Linked DNA regions of Homo sapiens: region 1 is linked to region 2. Evidence: promoter capture Hi-C in human tissues and cell types (Jung and others, 2019). All regions are on one chromosome and are shown on one strand. Each heading gives the region's core, a stretch centred on a gene start or on the middle of the fragment in contact. The rest is flanking DNA. Distances are from core to core; before and after follow the strand shown.

Region 1 (3,137 bases), core at 20-2,519, 37 kb before region 2:
ACAATTATATGATTATGGAACCCAACGATGACCTAGCTGCTTTTCTGTATCTTCTATTTTCTCACAACCACCTTGTGGTAGGTAGTATTATCTTCCTCTCACAGATGAGTAGGGTCCCCCTGGGTCTAATGGGTTTCCTGAGACGTGGAACTTTCAGTATAAAACCTAAAAAGTCCCAGGCAAACCAGGATGAGTTGGTCACCCTAGATGAGGAATCCAAAGTGCAGAAAATTATCTGCCCCATGTCACATCACAAGGAAGTGGCTAGAGCCAGGATTTGATCTCTGAGGCCAGCAATATTTCTAATGCTATCAGGCTGCTCCCACTTCTGACCAATCAAGGAGTACAGGTAATGTCGCCTTGTTCATTTTCTAGTAAAGAGGCCCCAAGAAGCCCTGGTCCTGACTAAGGAGGACATGGTGTGGGCAGCTACTGTCCTGTGTGCAGGAATTTCACAAGCAGTACTCCAGACACAGAAGCATTTCAGAATGAAAGCAGAAAGAAAAGGAAATGAAGAAAAATGAAGATTCTCAGGGACCTGTGGGAGGCCATCAAGCATACCAACATATGAATAATAGGAGTCCCAGAAGGAGAGACAAGAGAAATTAGGGTAGAAGGAATATCTAAAGAAATAATGGCTGAAAACTCCCCAAATTTGATGAAAGACAATAATATACATGTTCAAGAAGCTTAGCAAACTCCAAGTAGGATAAATTCAAAGATATTCTCATTGAGACACATTATAATTCAACTGTCAAAAGACAGATACAAAGAGGGAATCTTGAAAGCAGCAAGAAAAAAGAGATTAATCTTATATAAGAGAACTTCAATAAGATTAATGGCTGATTTCTCATCAGAAACCATGGGGTTAAGAAGGCAGCAATATGAAATATCTAAAGACCTCGAAGGAAAAAAATAAAACTTTGACCAACAATTCTATATCAAGCAAAATTATTCTTCAAAAATGAAGAAATTAAAATATTCCCAGATAAACAAATATTGAGGAAGTTAATCACTAGTAGACCTGCCCTGCAAAAAAATGCTGAAGGGAATCCTTCAGGCTGAAATGAAAGGACACTAGACAGTGACTCAAATTCATACAAAGAAAAAAGAACACTGGTAAAGTTAACTATATAAGTAAATATAAAATCCAGTATTGTATTTTCAGCATATAATTTTTCTTTTTTTCCTATATGATTTGAAAGATAAATGCATAAAACAGTAATTGTAAACCTATGTTAATGGGCACACAATGTATCTATAAAACATTATTCTCTGATAACAACATAAAGGGGGAGGGATACAGCTATATAGGAGCAGAGTTTTATATATTATTGTGACTAAGTTATTAATTCAAACTAGTGTGTTAACTGTAATACACAGGTAAATTAGTTTCCTAGGGCTATCATAACAAAGTACGATAAACTGGATGGCTAAAAGCAACATAAATTTATAATCTTACAGTTCCAGAGGCTGAACGTCCAAGATCAAGGTGTCAACAGGGTTATGCTTTGGAAGGCTCTGGGGAAGAATCCTTCCTTGCCCCTTGTAGTTTCTGGTGGTTGCCAGAAATCTTTGGTATTCTTTGGATTGTACATGCATCATTTCAATCTCTGCCTCAGTCACCACATAGCTTTCTTCTGTGTGTGTGTGTGTGTGTGTGTGTGTGTGTGTGCGCGCGCGCGTGTGTGTGCGTGTGTGTGTCTGTTTTCTCTTCTTATAAGGACACCAGTCATTGCAGTAGGGCCCACCCCAAGAATATGACTGCATCTTAAAAATTACATCTTCAGAGCCCCTATTTCCAAATGTGGTAATATTCTGAGGTTCCATGTGGTTACAAATTTTGAGAGACACCATTTAACCCATTATACCAAGACAACCCTAGGGAAATAACTTAAAAATATGGAGAAAAGGAAATGAGAAGTAAATCAAAATGGCATGCTACAAAAAGTCAGACACAAAAAGTGGAAGTAATGAAGGAACTGAGAAACAAAGATGGTATACGACATATAGAAAACAAATAGAAAAACTAAAGAATTAAGTCCTTCTGTATCAGCAATTTAAACAGAAATAGATTAAACTCTCTAATCAAAAAGGCCAGAGCTGAGGCATGAGAATTGCTTGAGCCCAGGAGGTGGAGGTTGCAACGAGCCAAGATTGCACCACTGCACTCCAGCCTGGGCAATAGAGCGAGACTCAGTCTCAAAAAAAAAAAAAAAAAAAAAAAAAAGCTGGCAGGATAAATTTTTAAAAACCAAAACAATTCAACCATATGCCGTGTCTAAGAGACTCACTTTAGATCCAAAGACACAACTTGGTTGAAAGTGAAATGATAGAAAAAGATATTCTATGCAAATTGTAACCAAAAGACAGTAGGGGTGAATATACTAAAACCATGCAAAATAGATGTTAAGTTAAACATTTTTACAAGTGACAAAGAAGGACATTACATATTGAGAAAAGGGTGAATGCCTTAAGAATATGTAACAATTATAGAGATATACACACCTAATAACAGAGCCTCAATATATATAAATTTAAAAACTGACAGAATTAAAGGAAGAAATAGTTCTACAAAAATAGTTGGAGACTTCACTACCTCATGTTCAATAATGGATAGAACAACTAGACAGAAGATCAATAAAGAAATAGAGGACTTAGGCCGCTTGCAGTAGCTCACGCCTGCAATCCCAGCACTTTGGGAGGCCAAGGCGGATGGATCACCTGAGTTCAGGAGTTTTGAGACCAGCCTGGCCAACATGGTGAAACCCCATCTCCACTAAAAATACAAAAAAGTTTAGCCAGGCATGGTGGTGCACACCTGTAATCCCAGCTACTCAGGAGGCTGAGGCAGGAGAATCACTTGAACTCGGGAGGCAGAGGTTGCAGCCAGCCAAGATTGCGCCACTGCACCCCAGTCTGGGTGACACAGTGAGATTCCACCTCAAAAAAAAAAAAAAGAAAAAGAAAGAAAGAAATAGAGGACTTGAACAACACTGCAAACCAACTAGAACTAACAGAAACATACAGAATCCCACCCAACAACAGCAGAACACACATTCTTCTCACATTCACATGGATCATTCTCCAGTACAGACAATATGTTAGGCCACAAAACAGGTCTTAATAAATTTTAA
Region 2 (3,154 bases), core at 272-2,771:
AAGTGGCACCCCAGGGGACAGTTTCAAAATGGGGGGGAGGAGTGTCAGGGAAGTTATCTGTATAAAGATCGATGTTTGTTAAACCATACTAAAAGATGCTTATAGCCACTTCATTCCCTATAGTGAAATAATGATGTACATTAAGCTGATGAACTATTAGGCAACAATTAAAAATAACTAGGAAGCTCGGTTTTAGAAATGTTAAAGAAAGAAGAACCAAATGGTGTGTATACACTGATTACACATTCCATGGAAACCTGTGCAGATCATAAGTTGGACACAGAGATACAAAGCCTTTTCTTTTTAAGGAAAAGGTGATTATTTTTGGAAAAGCAATAAAACCTGGGTTCCCAGCAAAGACAGTGGCACAGTTACCAGACTCACTTGCAACCTGGGAGACCTGGGCTGGGAGCAAGGTCCACTCTTGTATTTTTTGATTTTCAAAAACCGTGAACAACTATGGCTGTGCATGGAGAGGCTGGTGTGGGGTGGGGTGCGGGGAGGTGCTCTGTTCAACCGCAGGGAATAATGACCAAAAAAAAAAAGGCGGGGGGGAGGGGGAAGGAATGCAGTACACCCCACAGAAAATGCTTAAAACCTGGCCAAACTGTTACTAAGCATGTGAGCTTTCAGACTTAGGGAGAATGTGGCAATTAGAAATGTAGTGGAGGGCCGGGTGCAGTGGCTCACACCCGTCATCCCAGCACTTTGGGAGGATGAGGCAGATAGATCATCTGAGGTCAGGAGCTCGAGACCAGCCTGGCCAACATGGGTGAAACCCCATTTCTACTAAAAATACAAAAATTAGCTGGACGTGGTGGTGCATGCCTGTAATCCCAGCTACTCGGGAGGCTGAGGCAGGAGAATCACTTGAACCCGGGGAGTGGAGGTTGCAGTGAGCCACTGCACTCCAGCCTAGGCAGCAGAGCGGGACTCCATCTCCAAAAATAAATAAATAAATAAATAAATAACAAAAACAAAAGAAATACAGTGGAGAAAGAAGCTGTTTCAATTGAGGGTGGAACAGATGCAATATTTCTGGCCACTCCTACCACTGGACAAACACACACTTACTATGAGTGACTATATAGATGCAGCCTGGGATTTACTAAGAAACACCATAACAGAACATCGATAGGCCAGGTGACAGCTTTTCACTACAACACCTTACTTCCTTTGAACATTTGGATTTTCTAGTTTTCCTAGACAATGACCTACACCCATCATATCATTCCTGGCCTCTCGCCCCCAGTACACACACTTTAAACATGAAGATAATGTCCACAGCCCACCGGGGCAAAACACCTCACTCAGCCAGCTAACAGGGGCAGGCAGGATGACTGCAGTAGTTTCATCTACTCTCATTTTTTCAGTGGGTCAATGAATTCCTTTCAGTGATCATCACTCACCTTAGCCATGTAGTTTTTTATAGGAACTGCTTGCCGAATAACCGACTTAGTTCAATTTACTGACTTAAAAGGACACAGTATGGCATGGGCTACTCCAGGTTGTGTTAACTGTAAAGACCAGTACCCATCCCCGTTCCAAATTCTAAACTCTACTACCTCATCTGCATGTCACAACAAGGTCAGCTGAAAACCTCCCTGTGGGCTGCACTTGAGCTTTCACAGGGAATAAACGACATCACAAGTCTGGCAAATGTATGGCTAAACGCAGCAGGAATCTCATGTATATGGATCTGAATGTTCTTTGGGAATTCTGCAGCAAATAAAATGATTTATTGAGCCAATTCAAACGAACTCTATCAAAACACACAAAGGCCTAGAGGAGAGATTACAATGAACGTAAATAATTCAAGGCAATTTTTGATCTAAAGCATTTTGCTTAGCTCTACAAAGGCATGAATGAGGTGTGGTCACGTTTTTGTATAGGAGGTTTTGCCACTACTTGCTCCCAAGTTAAACATGGCCACAGAGTATTGTGAATGTTTAATGTATGCCTGGGAAAAATTTATTGGCCAATACTTTAGTTACTAATGGGAGGATTATGTATAGTCGGACCATAAAGCGTGTAAAAGCAGATCACTTAGAGCCGCTCTGTCCAGGACAGCAGCACTAGATGCATGGGCCCTTTGAGCACCTGAAATAAGGTTAGCATGACTAAGGAACTGGGTTTTATTTTTTCAAACTTGATGTTCAATTCAGTTACTGAAAAACTTTACTATGTTTAACTATCTTTGGAACAACTTGGATATGAATTTGTGTTTTTCAACTGCATATTTTACAAAATCTAAATACAGATCAAGTATTCCTGATGAAACGTTAGCATCCAAATTATGCTATAACCAGATACACAGTGAGTTTTGAATTCTTAGTGTGAAGAATAATTTTAGATCTCACTAATAATTTGCATATATTGAGTACATATTGAAATATTTTGGATATGCTGAGTTAAATAAAATATGTTATAATTTCACTTTTTAAATATGGTTGCTAGAAAATTGAAAATGACACTCTGGGCTTATTTTTTTTTTTTTAATTTTGAGACGGAGTTTCACTCGTTGCCCAGGCTGAAGTGCAATGGCGCAATCTCAGCTCACGGCAACCTCCACCTCCCAGGCTCCAGCGATTCTCCTGCCTCAGCCTCCCAAGTAGCTGGGATTACAGGCATGCGCCACAGATTTATTTTTTATTTCTGTTGGAGTGTGCTGTTTTAAGAGTATGGAGCTGACATTTAAGAATTCTAATGCCATCTGCTGGATACACTGGTACAAGACAGGCCCGTGTCACAGTAAGACTGTGATGGTGTGTCAATACTCAAAGAACTGGATCTGAAACAGAAAAGGGCTCACAAAACACTGAACTAAATTATACTGTTAAGAGGGGATTATAAATAGGTTTATTTAGTTTTTGAAATCCCAGAGAAAATGTGACTCACAGTTATCTTCAGATAACAGTGACCATGAGCCAACGAGCATAACTGCTTCGCCGTCCACCCGGGTGCTGCAGGCATGGATGTGGTCACCTGGGATGGACCCTTTGTGATGCTGGCTCCCACACCTACAGCTCTTCCTGCTGCCTGCCTTGTCTCTGTCTCCCTTCTCCTTTCTACTCCACAGTCAGCCTCAAGTCCTTCTGCTCTGGGTTACACACACATCCTCTTTCCATCTTTCTTTGTCTATTCATTGTTTTTT

Evidence for each region. The method cuts DNA at HindIII sites, captures the fragments that hold promoters and counts their contacts. A contact is called where the count stands out against the background at its distance.
Region 1: a fragment that was not itself captured here is called in contact with the fragment with the promoter of C3orf20 in region 2 in 1 of the 25 tissues and cell types used here (ovary).

What each region holds. Positions count from the first base shown.
Region 1 is chr3:14,710,721-14,713,857 of GRCh38, reverse strand. The region is part of intron 7 of C3orf20 (chromosome 3 open reading frame 20); the gene reads right to left. Among named protein-coding and RNA genes, the nearest start is that of C3orf20, 37 kb to the right of the region's middle. The HindIII fragment of the contact is 7,145 bases long and covers 1-3,137 here.
Region 2 is chr3:14,673,508-14,676,661 of GRCh38, reverse strand. It overlaps C3orf20 (chromosome 3 open reading frame 20), which reads right to left and starts at 1,521. Exons shown (of 17, transcript NM_032137.5): 1 at 1,410-1,521. RefSeq lists an enhancer at 2,960-3,009. The HindIII fragment of the contact is 10,656 bases long and covers 1-3,154 here.